Linked DNA regions of Homo sapiens: all the other regions are linked to region 3. Evidence: promoter capture Hi-C in 16 types of primary human blood cells and fetal thymus (Javierre and others, 2016). All regions are on one chromosome and are shown on one strand. Each heading gives the region's core, a stretch centred on a gene start or on the middle of the fragment in contact. The rest is flanking DNA. Distances are from core to core; before and after follow the strand shown. Region 1 overlaps PITRM1 (pitrilysin metallopeptidase 1). Region 2 overlaps LOC105376370 (a long non-coding RNA gene). Region 3 holds the start of KLF6 (KLF transcription factor 6). Region 4 has its middle 67 kb from the start of LINC00703. Region 5 overlaps LINC02668 (long intergenic non-protein coding RNA 2668).

Region 1 (2,738 bases), core at 70-2,569, 620 kb before region 3:
CAAGGAAAGACAGACCTAAAAAAGGCAGATGAGAATATGTGTGTGTGTGTATAGAAAGAGAGAGAGAGCGAGCGAGCGAGCGAGCGCGAGAGCGCACGCGCTTACTACTGGCTAGGTATTTTAGATTTTTTTATTTTTTAAATTTTTTATTCTTTTTTTGGCTAGGCATTTTCTAATCATGTCACATATAATCCTGTGAGGGAGGTATTCTCATACTCATTTACAGACGAAAAAACCGAGGCTCAGGGTGATGAAATAAGCTGCCTAAATCACAGAGCCAGGATTCACCCTGGTGTCTGCCCTTCCCATGGTACCATGCTGCACCTAAGTAACAGAGCGCCCTTTCCAATGTCTGCTGAGTGTCTCCTGCTTTTGTGTGCTGTGCCTCAGTAACACAGCGCCCCTTCCAATGTCTGCTGAGTGTCTCCTGCTTTTGTGTGCTGCGCCTCAGTAACACAGCACCCCTTCCAACGTTGGCTGTGTGTCTGTTTCTGTGCATATCATCTCCTGTAGTGCGCAGAACGGGCCTGCAAGGAGGGGAAATGCTAGAGTGGGCTAGCCTGCGACAGCAGGGAGAGGCTCTAGGATCAGCCTTTGCTTCTCTTAGTTTAGGATGGGTTCTCGGTGGTAGCTAGAAGCACAAAGCTGTGGCTTCCAGAACAGCTGGAGGGGCCGGGAGGATAGAAATGCCCACAAGACAGACGAAAGACTCCCCACTCCTGGGGCGGCGTGGAAGGTCATCTCCTACTTTAGGTAAGCCTCCTGGTAAGTGACCATACTCCTCGGTATGAAAGAAACTGTCTTCTCTTCCAGTCATGCCAGCCGGCCCTCTCCCTCAATCACACACCACGTCCCTGTGATCACCACACCACTCACCACCCCCTCCTGCCAGGTGCCATGAGTCACCTGGCCAAGCGCACACAGTAAGTCGCTGGCCAAGGTCAGACCTCGGGTCTCCTCAGCCCAATCTAGGGAGCCTGCCACGCAACAGTCATGCATAAAGCAGACCACTATGACCTGCATCATCTACCGCCGCGAAATTACTTCTGTTTCCAAGCTCACTGTACTTTGTAACAGATGATCAATGCTTTTGAAGTCAGCAGATACAGTGAGATGTTTGCTTTCTAATAATATATAGCTTTAATAATAATAGCTTTCATGGTAGCTATTTCTCAAACAAGAATCATGACTTATCGTAAGTTTCTATGGCTGGACACAGTGGCTCACACCTATAATCCCAGCACTTTGGAAGGCCAAGGTGATATGGTTTGGCTGTGTCCCCACCCAAATCTCATCTTGAATTGTAGTTTCCATAATCCCCACATGTTGTGGGAGGGACCTGGTGGGAGGTAATTGAATCAAGAGGGCGGTTTCCTCCATGTTATTCTCGTGACAGTGAGCACGTTCTCATGAGAGCTGACGGTTTTATAAGGGGCTTCCCCCTTCACTTGATCCTCATTCTCTCCCCTGCCGCCCTGTGAAGAGATGCCTTCCACCACGATTGTGTTTCCTGAGGCCTCCCCAGCCATGCAGAACTGTGAGTCAATTAAACCTCTTCACTTTTTAGCTCATACTTTATAAATTACCCAGTCTTGGGTATTTCTTCATAGCAGTGTGAGACTAGACTAATACACAAGCAAAAGGATTGCTTGAACCCAGGAGTTTGAGACCAGTCTAGGCAACAAAGTTTCCATCTACACACACACACACACACACACACACACACACACACACACACACACACACAATTAGCCAGGCGTGGTGGCACCTTGTCCCAGCTACTTGGCAAGAGGATCGCTTGAGCCCAGGAGTTCGAGGCTGCAGTGAGCCAAGATCATACCACCACACTCCAGCCTGGGCGACAGGGTGAGTCCCAGTCTCAAAAGTAAATACGTTTCTATAAAATTTGAGAAATAAAGGAGGAGAATCTACCGCTGTGGGTGAGGCCCTTATTAACAGTAACCTGTACCATAAACCCAAGTGTCTTTGCCTGGCCTTTGCAGGATTTCACAAACGCTCCAAGTCTTTTCATGAGTCCCATGCCTGGACCTTGTCTGGCGCACCCTAGTCACTGCCCTGGCTCCCTTGCTGGAGCCCTGACCGAAGGCAGCCACGTTCTCACACCACCCTCTCCAGGAGCTCTTCCCTCTGCCCCCAGCAGCAGCAGCTCCCACTCCTCCTCCTGCCCTTGTCCTTGGCCCTCCGCGTGGCGTCCACCATGTGCCTCCGGTCACAGCCGCAGCAGTCTTTCTAGACAGTAAGCTGTTTGTCTTTCACGTTTGCTATAACATCAAGCATAGCACAAAGCCAACAGCTGGCCAAATACATGAAGCGTGTCATTTTCAGTTACCATGCTAAATAGAAACAATGCAAAAGGTTTAGGCAAAATAACAAAACAAAAACCAAATGAATCTATTTTAATACAGACCCAAGTAAGTACAGGTCCACAATTGCTTCTTTATCATTCTGAAACCCGAATGGCTCAGAAAACTGAAAGGTTCTGCGGACGTTTAGAGCAAGCTATTTGATGGCAAAACCTGACTAAACAGATCAGGGCAGTGAGTCTTCATGCTCATGCTCAGTGAAACATCAGGTTTGGCTGCAGAAACGCTAGTGTGTCTGATTACAGAGACCCAGCTGGAAGTGTTACTCTCTAAAATCTCACAAGAACCAGGCTTTGCGGGATTCCAGGAAGGGACTGGGGCTCATTTCACTCACAAGCTCTGTTCAGCCGAGTA
Region 2 (2,873 bases), core at 254-2,753, 550 kb after region 3:
ATATGATTCAACCATTAGAAATAGGTTGGAACTTCAAATACCTACCAGCTTCCTCCCATCGATTTTGCATTTTCTCCTAGGTTTATACAACATTAATTAGCCTAGCTTTGCTTTTTAGAGTAATATATTGTGGGTGGCACAACACTGCTGCCAAGCAGATTTGATGACAAAGAGGAGAGTGGTTTATGTTGGATTTGTATTTTAAGGGAAAAAAATACTTGCTATTCTTTGTCTCTCCCTTCTCAATATAATCAAAATTTAAAAATGAATAAAGCCAAGACAAAACAAACAAGGTAGCAAAACACCCCATACTATTATTCAAAGGATCTTAAAAATGTGAAACAATGACCCACTCTATGCCATTTACTTGACTATTTTAAACAGAAAACAAAATGTAGAAATGTAGAAATGAACAAAAATGGAACCTGAGGAACAATGACAGTGTTTTAAATTATTTCCATGAAAGTCCATGCTTTTATTTTTAGGCAATCCTCTTATGTACGCAATCACTGATTATTAATGATTTCCATAAGCACAATTCTTCCAAAAATCTTATCATAAAATATTTCTAACATAAAAGCTGAAAAAATTGCAGAGTGAACACTTGTGTACACTCCACCAGGATTTTATAATTAACATTTATTATCTGTTTTGTTTCATATTTATCTTATTTTCATTCCTCTGTCTAGAAATCAATCTATTATAAATACAATTTTAATCAGTTGATTTATCTTACTTTCCATCAGCAGAAATTTGGAAGCAATTAATTTGGAGGAGGAAAGAGTCTAAGTAAGATGCCTAACAGATCTTGGTGCGTTGACAACCTTGAAACTTGATGTTAATGGACAGGTACAAAGATGAAGATGAGCTGAACAGTCTTAGTGGTTGAAGCTGCTGCATGTAAGATAAGCATGTTAAATCCATGCCATGTATACTGCAAATCCCAATCCTGTGCACAAAGCAGGCATTGCTAAGAAGACCCTGCTGTATTTAAAAAGCCTAGATGCACTGATAGAACCCTCAACACAGGACTCCAGCCATGGACTACCATTGGTTCAGAGCTGCCAGTCCAGTAGTAGCTTATGCATCACCTACGGTAGAGTGGAAACTCTCCTGCACACGCCAGTCACTCCAAGGGCACTTTAATTAAAACCACACAAAATTTTTGTAGATAACAATAAACTTGATTATGGATAAATCATGAAATCAATAAATATAGAGTTCCTGGTACTCACCACCACCACCCCTTCTCTAATTTTTTTTCAAATTCAGGTAATCTCTATACCTTTTGCTTAAAAAAGAAAAGACAAGAAAATAAAATTTTACCTTACAATTCTAACCATCCTGAAAAGTTTTTGTGGCCTGGGTTAGACATGGGAAGGGGTTAGGAAGTTCTCAGTAAGAACAAAAGAAGCAATTATGCAGGTCAATATACAATGCATTGATGACCTAGGTGTGTGGTGGATGTAGGAGATGGAATTCAGCCAGGTGCATATTTTCCTGTAAGAGCCTCGAATGAGTGTGGGATGAATAAGAGGATGAAGGAATGGTATATGTACACACACAGCAATTTCTCAATAATGGATTTTGCAGACATAAATGTCATCTAGCTTTTATCGTTTGGTATAAAATCTCAAAGGCCTTAGCAAAACAATAAACTTCAATTAGCTTGATTGTGAATTTTTATGATTTCTTAATCTATTAACTTCTCATTGCTAATGTTACGGCAGTAATTTTGGAATAACCTGAGCAATAAATGCCATGATTAAGGGAGAAGGCAGGGAGGGGGGGTTAATATATTTTTAAATGGCTACTAGGAAAATAAAAGTTAACTTTTAAAAAAAGTTCTAACATATTAGTGGTGAACTTCATTTATCTAGAAGATTCCTGGAAATGAACTAGCTCATTCTCCAATAAATCATATGTGAGGCATTACCTACTATATATGCAGAGCAATATATTTTGTGACCTGCTGACTTTTTGAGTGAAGTAAAAATATTGCTTTTAATTCATCCTAATTGTAATGAGCTAAATCAATTTGCCTTTTGAGTCCTGCTGACAGCATAGAAATGTGGTGGTGACGGGGAAGAAACAGGAACCAGGGCAGCCAGGCCTGGTGGGTGTCTGGATTCTGCATATGGAACTTGCCTCCTTGCACTGTTTGTGTAGCTGGGCCACTGAAAATAGAGGATTTCCCTTTCTGAGATCCCTGAGGCCAACAGGAAGATCATATTACTGAGCAGTGTGCCATAAGAACTTTACCCTGTGAGGTTCAAAGGCACCATAAAGTTCACACTGGCTTCCACAGATATTTCTACTGATTTCTATTCCGTTTATGGTGAAACTAAAACTGTCACATCTTAAAGGTGACCCCCAGCAAGCAGGTGGTGTTTGAGACAGTGGCACCTTGTTGCAGCTTCTGTTCCTCAGGGTGGAGCATGAATACAATGCAATATCCCCATGCATGTGGATCAAATAATGAAGCAGCTAAACATGTGAAGGCACACTTAGGTCAGTACCTGCCAGACACAGACAGAGAGCAGGTTCAGGTCAATGGAGCACAGCTGAAGCTGGGTCCGGATGGGATGGGTCTAAGTAGAAATAAAGTTTCAAAGGATGGAAAGCCTTTAAACACTTAAAATGGTGCCATGGATGAATACAAATTATTTCCCTAAAAGCTCTCTGGACTCCATCCCTATCGTCATAAATTTTTCGGATGAAGCACCTATAGGCAGGCTGCTGCAGAAACAAATGATAATTACGTGTTTCTAAAATCACATTTTGGCAGTAGGGTCATTTGAGAAGGGCTGCCAGTCCTTTTGCAGCACAGGAAAAACAAAGCTACTGTGAAGACACTAGCTTCATAATCTATG
Region 3 (2,700 bases), core at 52-2,551:
CTTTGAGGAGGAAAAAAACAGGAGGGGGAGGGGGAAAAGGCAGGAGAGGACTGTGAACAATTAAGCAGGCGTGTGAAGGTTGCAACACCCTGCATTTCATCTTCCTTAAAGCTTTCGAGGCTTGGAAACCCACAGCCTCTATTTGATCTGGCAATTCACTTTGTGACGAAAAACAAACAGCACAGCAGGGCAGGGAGACAACAGTAAACCCTCCTGCGATCGCTGGAGAGACAATGGGAGGAGTGTCAGTCTCTCTCCCCTCGGGCGATGCTACCTATAAGCACGGGGACCTGGTAAGTTTCTTAAATTTCCAATGCCCCCAAATTCCAGTTCTACGACAATGTCGGAAACCGAGGTCCTTCTTTCCAAACTAAGACTTGAAGCAGTTTGGACGGGCTCATTGTCACAAGACTGACAAGTCACTGGGGTGTACACAGTTTTATTTTTATTTTTCTTGGTCAACAAGAGAAGCAGGGAAGACAAATAAGGCAGATCTAGGGGAAATGTTAGGCATTCCAAAGAGCAGAAAACACATTGGAAATGGTCTACAGTTTAAAAAAGACAAAAATAAAAGAGAGCTGGTCTACGTTCTGGGGGCAAAATGTGATTTTTTTAAAAAACTGTTAAGTACAAGCACCAAGAAACAAAACAAAAACAAAATCCGTTAAAAAAAAACAACAAAAAACAAACAAACAAAAAAAAAACACCTTGGCAGGCAGAGCAAGTTGGTCCCCATGACAAGCTCCAGCTGTGGCGTCTGGAGCGGGGACAGGCTCCGAACTCGTGCCAGGGGCTCGGCCGGGCTGTGCCGGGAGTTGGGGCTTCCCTGGGCGGACGCTGATCGCAGCCTGGAGGATCGATCGGCGGGGGCGCTGCGCCCGCTCCCCCGGTGACAGCGCGGGGCCCAGGCCCAGCGGACCGCAGAGAGCACCGGGTCTGAACCCCAAACAGCCGACCCGGCCCGCGCCCCGGCGCCCGCAGGGAACCGCGGCCGGCTGCGTTTACCTGTTGCCAGTACTCCTCCAGAGACGGCAGCGCCGAGAAGTAGCCGGTCTCGTGCACGATCTGGAGCTCCTGGAAGATGCTGCACATGGGGAGCACGTCCATGTCGGGCCGGGTTGGACGGAGCCCGCGGTCGCGAGGGCGGCGAGGCGCGCGGTGGGAGCCGGAGCCGAAAGTCTCCCCGGAGCGCAGGTGAAAGTTTCATGCAAACTCCAGGCTCGCAGAGACGCCCGGCCGGACCCTCCCGCAGCCCGCAGCGCGCGGAGCCCACACAATATTTGCAAACACCGGACTGACTGCAAACGTAACCCCTGCAAAACTTCCCTATTCAAAGCTCCGCTGCCAGCCTCCCCCTCCGCCCCCGCCTGGCTCCCCCCACTCCCCCTCCCCCCACGTGACTCGCCCCGCGCCCGCCCCGTGCGCGGCCCAATCCCGTGGCTCCCGGCCCGGGGGCTGCGCGCCGATGATGTCAGCTCCGGCCAATCGCAGGCGGCGACACACAGCGGCCCCGCCTGGCGTGACCGAGACTCTCCATCACGGCCCGCACCATTGGCTCAATTCGAACTCTGCTCGTTCTGATTGGAAAGTGGCCTCGCAGGCTATTTTTAGCAGGGTATATAAGGCGCGGGCGGCCGCGCGCCGGAGGAGTCCGCGCTGTGAGGTGCGCGGCCGAGCCCTGCACTGCGCCCGCGGCCGGAGCTAAGGGAGCCGGGGCTGGGAGAGCCGGGGCGGGCCGCGTCGCCTGTCCCCAGTCCCGGTCTCTCTTCCCCGCTGCCCGGTCCCGCCACCCCACGCCCGTCCCGGTCACCAAGCCGGGCCCTGTCGCCGCGCGAGCCCCGGTTCCGGCAGCTCACCCTGCGGGCGGCCGTCCGGTCCCGGGGCCGCCCGGTTCCCCCCCGTCCCCTTCTATGCCCGAGGCCGCCCCGTCCCCAACTGTCCCCTTCTACGCCGGGGGCTTCCCGGTCGCCAACTGTCCCCTTCTATGCCCGGGGCCGCCCCGTCCCCAACTGTCCTCTTCTGCGCCGCTCTGTTTCCCTACATCCCCCTAGTCATCCTCTGTTCTCTAACCTTGGGGTACCCCTCTCTGTCCTCCTCCACCTCCGGGTCCCTCTCTGTCCCCCTCCATCCCTGAGCCCGTCTCCGTCCCCCTCCAGTCCTAGGGTCCCCTCTGTCCTCCGGGCCACCAGAGTGGGGGAGGGGAGCACGCAGGCTCCCCTTGGAATTGGGAGAAACGTGTTTATCTTGTAGAGGGCGATCTTAGCCCTCACCAAGGTTAACAGCTAGGTTTTCCCATGAACGTGTAAACAATTTAGGTGCAAGCCGACATTTAGTGTGTGTGTTTTTTTCCATATAAATTATCTCCTAAAATATACCGTAATGTTCATTTTTAAGAAAAATGTCGAGACTCGAACCAGAGCATTTTAAAATCCAAAATGGAAAACTGAATTGTAACTGTATTATAGTTTTTGTTTCAAAATAGTTTAATGAACATTAAACATTTTGAAAGAATGGACTATGTAAAAAAAAATTAGAGGGTTTTGTATGTTAAGTTTTAGAGGGTCCGGCAGAAGCATGTGGCTGTAAGACTAGGTGGGGACCTTAGTGAGTCTGGAGTGGAGAAAGGAGGTTTGTCTTGTACCTGCGGTATGTGGGCGGTGAAGGTTATGCAGAGTGAATTGACAGTGTTCTTGGCTCGTG
Region 4 (2,780 bases), core at 224-2,723, 530 kb after region 3:
ATCCGAGAGAAGGCGGCATCTATCGGGCAGCTGATGAAAGTGTGTCGTGGAAAGGACCTAAGCTATGTCTGCACCCAAACAGACTCTCTTTGTTCTCGGAGGATTAGATAGTGCAGCCAGTATGTGGCTACTTGGAAAGGGTGGGTGGGCGAAGGAAGAAAAAAAAAAGATATTTGTTATAATATTGGTGCATGTAATATTGATGGGAATAGAACCAAACAGAAACTAGTGACTCGGTGTCATGCAGGAGGCTCCTGACCAACAGTGTTCTGTGGATGTGTTTTTATCAAAGCAGGCACTGGGGGAAGTGGTCCAGCCGCGGAATGCCATCGTCATCTGATCACCCTGCGCTTCTGAGTCAGTGGGCCTGGCAGAACCAAGGGCACTTCAGAGAGTCTTATTGGAACAGTAAGTTTCCATGTGTCCAGATGACATCACCCTCAGCAGGCCTGAAGGGAAGGAATGGGCCAGAGAGTAGCCCGCAAAAAGATTTGTTTGATTTCCAACAGGAGCCCCAAAATTGGGCATTTATTTCAGGGCTTAAAAAATAATAGCATTGAAATAATAAGTAGGTGGTAGGATGACAATTTTAGAGACCCTGATGCCTTTTTTGTGAATAACTTTAAGAGTGCTGTCCTTTTGTTTTTCTTGGCTGCCAATATTAGCATAGGAAGTACACAAAACTGGAGGGGGACTCCATCTTGCTGTGAATATAGAATTGTGGACAGGTATTTGTTGGGGAAAGCTGTTGATGCCCAAAGAGAGGAGCCTAGAAATAAAAGTCACATTTCTCTTTAAAGCTTTTCCTCTGCCTATGAGCCAGCTCTCCTCATTCAGACAACCAGGTGGTTCTCAGAGAGATAACTATGGCTGCATCTAAAGCTCTGGCATGTTTCGTTGAATATACTTTTTCCAGTGCCTCTCCTTTCCCTTTTATGCCCATTTCAAAGCTTTCCTCATTTATACATCAAATCTTCATAGCCTTCACAGTCATACTTCTACACAATACAGAATTTGCTTAATACATATTTTCCCCAAAAAACACTTTTTTAAAATGAAAATTTTCATTGAGGTTATGAGATATACCCTGAAAGGAAATACAATATAGGTCATGGTTGAATAAATTTTTGCAAACTAAACACACAGCATTAATTAGCACCCATGTTAAGATACAAAATACTAACAGCACCTTCGAAGCCCTTTTGTTCCCCTCCCAGTCATTAACTCCAGCCTGTATCCTGACTTCACTACCATGGATTGATTCTGCTTGCTTTTGAACTTCACATGAGTGGAATCCTATCTAGCACATGTACTCTGTTGCGCCTGGCTTTCTTTTCTCAATAGAACTTTTACAAAATTCTCTTGTGTTGTGGTGTGCATTTATTCATTCTCATGGTTACAGAGTATTATATGAATATGATACATTTGGGCTGTTTACTGTCTTTGAATATTATAAATAGTGTAGCTATGCACATTCTCATGGTTGTTTTATGGTGAACAAATGCACACATTTCTGTTGCACACAAATCTACACCTAAAAGTGAAATGTTACACTTAATTCACCTCAGTACATATGGCTAAATAACTTTCTACAGTCCTGTCACCCATATATGAGAGTGCCAGGAGCTCCACAATTTTGCCCACACTTGGTATTGTCTACTTTTTCTATATTTGCCATTCTTGTTAGTGAGTCAATAGTTATTTGCCTTCTAATATATTTCCTAAAATAAATTGATCTCTAATGGTAAAATAATGAGCCCAAGATTAGATCTCTCCTAGAAATTTTGTGTTGCAAGTGATTTAATAAAATTAACTCAAGAAATGCCACAAACAAAGCAAACAGGAAGAGGCAAACACAAATTATTTAACAATTTTAAAGCAATAAATATATGTCAACAAGTAGTTCACTAAATTTTATCTCATCCCACTCCATAAAGTCATTCACTATGATTTAAACATCAGAGAAATTTTTGTTTTTTCAGACGAGCCCCAAACATAAAGCTTAGGCCTCCTCCATCAAGCTCTAATTCTTGATGTATCCATTATGATGCAACCTAGGAACCATTAAAAGGGGTTGGACCTGATGGTGATTGCCTAATTCTGATTTTGGATTCAAGTCATATAAGATACGTAATTCAACAATAAAAGAATCAATCCCAAGAAGCCACTTGTTAGATATCTATGTACGAAGCTGATACTTTATTTTGTGAGCTGAATAATGATATTAAGTTTCCCTTTTATTTACTATCAATAAATTTCTCCCTCCAAATCAGTGAGTGCACTCAAGACTCCACATTTGTGCTTAAAAAAAGGCAGAGGCTAAATTCCAAATTATCAGCAGGAAAACCATGGTTAGTTAGAGTATTTTATTCTGTGACGCAGAATTTACTTGTGCAATGGAGCAATAAAGAGTCAGATAAAAATATAAATGGGGAATAGAGAAGAATGAGTGTTTATCTGTTTTTATGTCTTAAAAAATTCTTCCAAAGAAAGGAAGAAAATGATGTAAAATTTGTGTTTCTTGCTTCTCGTATCCTAAGTCTCTTTATTAGAAGAAACACCAAGTAAAAGGCATAGAATAGCAGATTATTTTCAAAATGCATTTATTCTCAAAAGATATTTTTTCTTCCCTATTATCAATAAAATTCAGCAATTGCTCGGACCCTGTATTTCCTCAGTATATTTTAACTTTTCCCCATGAATATGAGTTAGTTTAAAAAATCCTTGAATCCGCTCCAATTACAGACTTCCCCAGCATTGCTTTTTTAAATGGTTTACAT
Region 5 (2,783 bases), core at 30-2,529, 530 kb before region 3:
CATCTACAGTACGGCACCCACTGCAGGAACAGCGCAGATTCCCTCATCTACAGCACAGCACCCACTGAGGGACAGTGCAGATTCCCACATCTACAGCACAGCACCCACTGCAGGAACAGCACAGATTCCCACATCTACAGTACGGCACCCACTGCAGGAACAGTACAGATTCCCACATCTACAGTACGGCACCCACTGCAGGAACAGCGCAGATTCCCTCATCTACAGCACAGCACCCACTGAGGGACAGTGCAGATTCCCACATCTACAGCACAGCACCCACTGCAGGAACAGCACAGATTCCCACATCTACAGTACGGCACCCACTGCAGGAACAGTGCAGATTCCCACATCTACAGTACGGCACCCACTGCAGGAACAGCGCAGATTCCCTCATCTACAGCACAGCACCCACTGAGGGACAGTGCAGATTCCCACATCTACAGTGCAGCACCCACTGCAGGAACAGTGCAGATTCCCACATCTACAGCACAGCACACACTGCAGGAACAGTGCAGTTTCCCTTGCGTCGCCCAGCATATGCAATCCCCACTGCACGGAAGTCACCTGCACAACGCTGGAGTTGCCAACGGTTTGTGTTTCTAAGTTCCACTTGGGAGTTAGATCTCATCTTTAATAATAATAGTTAAATCCTTGTTTCGTTCAAGTTTAAATGTGTATAAACTCTGAAATTCTATTTTTACAGATAGCTACAAAAGCTCACAAAATATATCACTTCAAATCCCTACATGTTATGTCTCCTGGGCATACAAACTACATTGATGGTAATGAACTACCAGAGTTTAAATCTTATGTTTCTTCTAAATAATGAACTCCTGTTTGTCAACCTGTATTTTCACTTTTTTCTATACTCCTGTGCAGTGTATTTAAAGAAAGAAATATGGAAAATAGTGAAAGACATAGAAAAGAGTGGTCTATCACCAACCTTCCCCCTTCCTCTCTTGTATATTGGAAATCTCCATCTATGTAGCCCAATTACATCTCTTCATTAGTCTGATTTGGTGTTACTCACTTTTAAAATATAGTTGTTTGCAAAGTCTGAAAATTATCTTGAAAAATGCAAATTTTTTAATGTGTACAATTCTATTTGTGCTAAATAAATTTAGACCTTTCTTATATTCAACATTATTGTTGGAATTCTGTCCTCAAAATCTTCCTTCAAAAACAGTTTTTCTGTGCATTTCCACTGAAAGTACCCTCACCGCTCCTCAGGCTGAGCTCAGTCATTCTGCACTTGGAAATCTTAGCCGATAGATTAAGAGAGGTTTAACCAAAATGTACATATGACTGAACAAATTTTCCCATCACAGTAAGAATGTTTATCAACCTTTATTAAAAATAGTAGTGTCTAAAATAGTGAACCTAAGGTAATGATGCTTTTACATGCACCATGATCTTTCAGCCAAAAAATATTTTCACATGAATGACAACTTGGTTAACAATACCTGTAGTGTATTCTTTTCTTTTAAAGTTATTTTAAGGAGAGTTTGTGATCTGATTTCATATTTGTATCAGTTGATAATTTGGGAAAATCGCTTTAACATTTGGGATTCACCTGATATGGAAGACTTGTAACTTCTCATTTAAGAGTTGCTGGTCTCTTTCCTTATGAACACAACATCATGCTGTAGAGTGAGAGTGAATGGTAGGGGTAAATCCGCCCCTCCACTCATCCACCCACTCATCCAGACATCTACCCACCCATCCACCTATCCATCTATCAATCCGTCCACCCATCTACCCACCTATCCAACCATCCATCTATTCCCCCATCCGCCCCTCCACTCATCCACCCACTCATCCACACACCTACCCACCCATCTACCTATCCATCTATCAATCCATCCACTCATCTACCCACCTATCCAACCATCCACCTATTCCCCCATCCACCCCTCCACTCATCCACCCACTCATCTACACACTTACCCACCCATCCACCTATCCATCTATCAATCCATCCACCCATCTGCGCACCTATCCAACCATCCATCTATTCCCCCATCCGCCCCTCCACTCATCCACCCACTCATCCACACATCTACCCACCCATCCACCTATCCATCTATCATTCCATCCACCCACCTACCCACCTATCCAACCATCCACCTATTCCCCCATCCACCCCTCCACTCATCCACCCACTTATCCACACACCTACCCTCCCATCCACCTATCCATCTATCAATCCATCCCCCCATCTACCCACCTATCCAACCATCCACCTATTCCCCCATCCGCCCCTCCACTCACCCACCCACCCACTCATCCATCTGTTGGTCCATCATCTTCCTATCTATTAATCTACCCATGGACCAAGCTCTTCAACTTTTTTTCAACACTGCAGAGGATTTTGCTTATTTTTTCATTTAAAAATATAACCTAAAAGAGAAATAGCAGAGAAGTGCTGAAGGTTAGAGAGCTAGAATCAGAATCAAAGTCTCTGAGCACAACCAGCCCATTTTTCATCAAGTCTAATAAAATAATTTGAGTACTTCTGCTTTCCTGAAATAAACAAAAATTTGATTTTCAACAAGCTACATGTTGATAATAAAGTTCATAAATCCTCTTCCACATTAAAAGGACACAATTTGAAATGGAGACACAATGGTCAGCTCTTAGCTATCTACATACCGAAGATTTATTTCCAAGACCCGTAAAAGAGCGGCACCCTTTGGCTCTTGCAAACACAGATGTCGATCATCACTACAGCCTGCCTGCTCATTGCTGGTTACACAGAACAATCTCCTCTGCTGTTTTTA

Evidence for each region. Contacts are between HindIII fragments. The CHiCAGO score rates a contact against its expected background, and 5 or more counts as called.
Region 1: a contact is called between a fragment that was not itself captured here and the fragment with the promoter of KLF6 in region 3, in 1 of 17 cell types (neutrophils). The highest score is 5.8, in neutrophils.
Region 2: a contact is called between a fragment that was not itself captured here and the fragment with the promoter of KLF6 in region 3, in 2 of 17 cell types (total B cells and naive B cells). The highest score is 6.8, in total B cells.
Region 4: a contact is called between a fragment that was not itself captured here and the fragment with the promoter of KLF6 in region 3, in 1 of 17 cell types (total B cells). The highest score is 5.9, in total B cells.
Region 5: a fragment that was not itself captured here is called in contact with the fragment with the promoter of KLF6 in region 3 in 1 of 17 cell types (neutrophils); the score reaches 5.6 in neutrophils.

What each region holds. Positions count from the first base shown.
Region 1 is chr10:3,167,220-3,169,957 of GRCh38, forward strand. All of the region lies in intron 2 of PITRM1 (pitrilysin metallopeptidase 1), which reads right to left. Among named protein-coding and RNA genes, the nearest start is that of PITRM1, 4.2 kb to the right of the region's middle. RefSeq lists an enhancer at 2,179-2,228. The HindIII fragment of the contact is 3,737 bases long and covers 1-2,738 here.
Region 2 is chr10:4,335,618-4,338,490 of GRCh38, forward strand. LOC105376370 (a long non-coding RNA gene) reads left to right here. Exons shown (of 3, transcript XR_930589.3): 3 at 747-1,198. Among named protein-coding and RNA genes, the nearest start is that of LINC00703, 47 kb to the right of the region's middle. The HindIII fragment of the contact is 5,347 bases long and covers 1-2,873 here.
Region 3 is chr10:3,783,908-3,786,607 of GRCh38, forward strand. KLF6 (KLF transcription factor 6) reads right to left here and starts at 1,302. Exons shown (of 4, transcript NM_001300.6): 1 at 1,006-1,302. The coding sequence starts at 1,107. RefSeq lists enhancers at 1-123, 124-680, 681-1,236, silencers at 842-1,441, 1,692-1,971, 2,152-2,211 and a promoter at 1,103-2,040. The HindIII fragment of the contact is 8,520 bases long and covers 110-2,700 here.
Region 4 is chr10:4,316,302-4,319,081 of GRCh38, forward strand. No RefSeq gene overlaps it. Among named protein-coding and RNA genes, the nearest start is that of LINC00703, 67 kb to the right of the region's middle. The HindIII fragment of the contact is 1,051 bases long and covers 949-1,999 here.
Region 5 is chr10:3,252,211-3,254,993 of GRCh38, forward strand. The region is part of intron 2 of LINC02668 (long intergenic non-protein coding RNA 2668); the gene reads right to left. It overlaps LOC105376353 (mucin-5AC-like), which reads left to right. Exons shown (of 3, transcript NR_164119.1): 3 at 1-1,144. Among named protein-coding and RNA genes, the nearest start is that of LINC02668, 3.9 kb to the right of the region's middle. The HindIII fragment of the contact is 4,547 bases long and covers 1-2,783 here.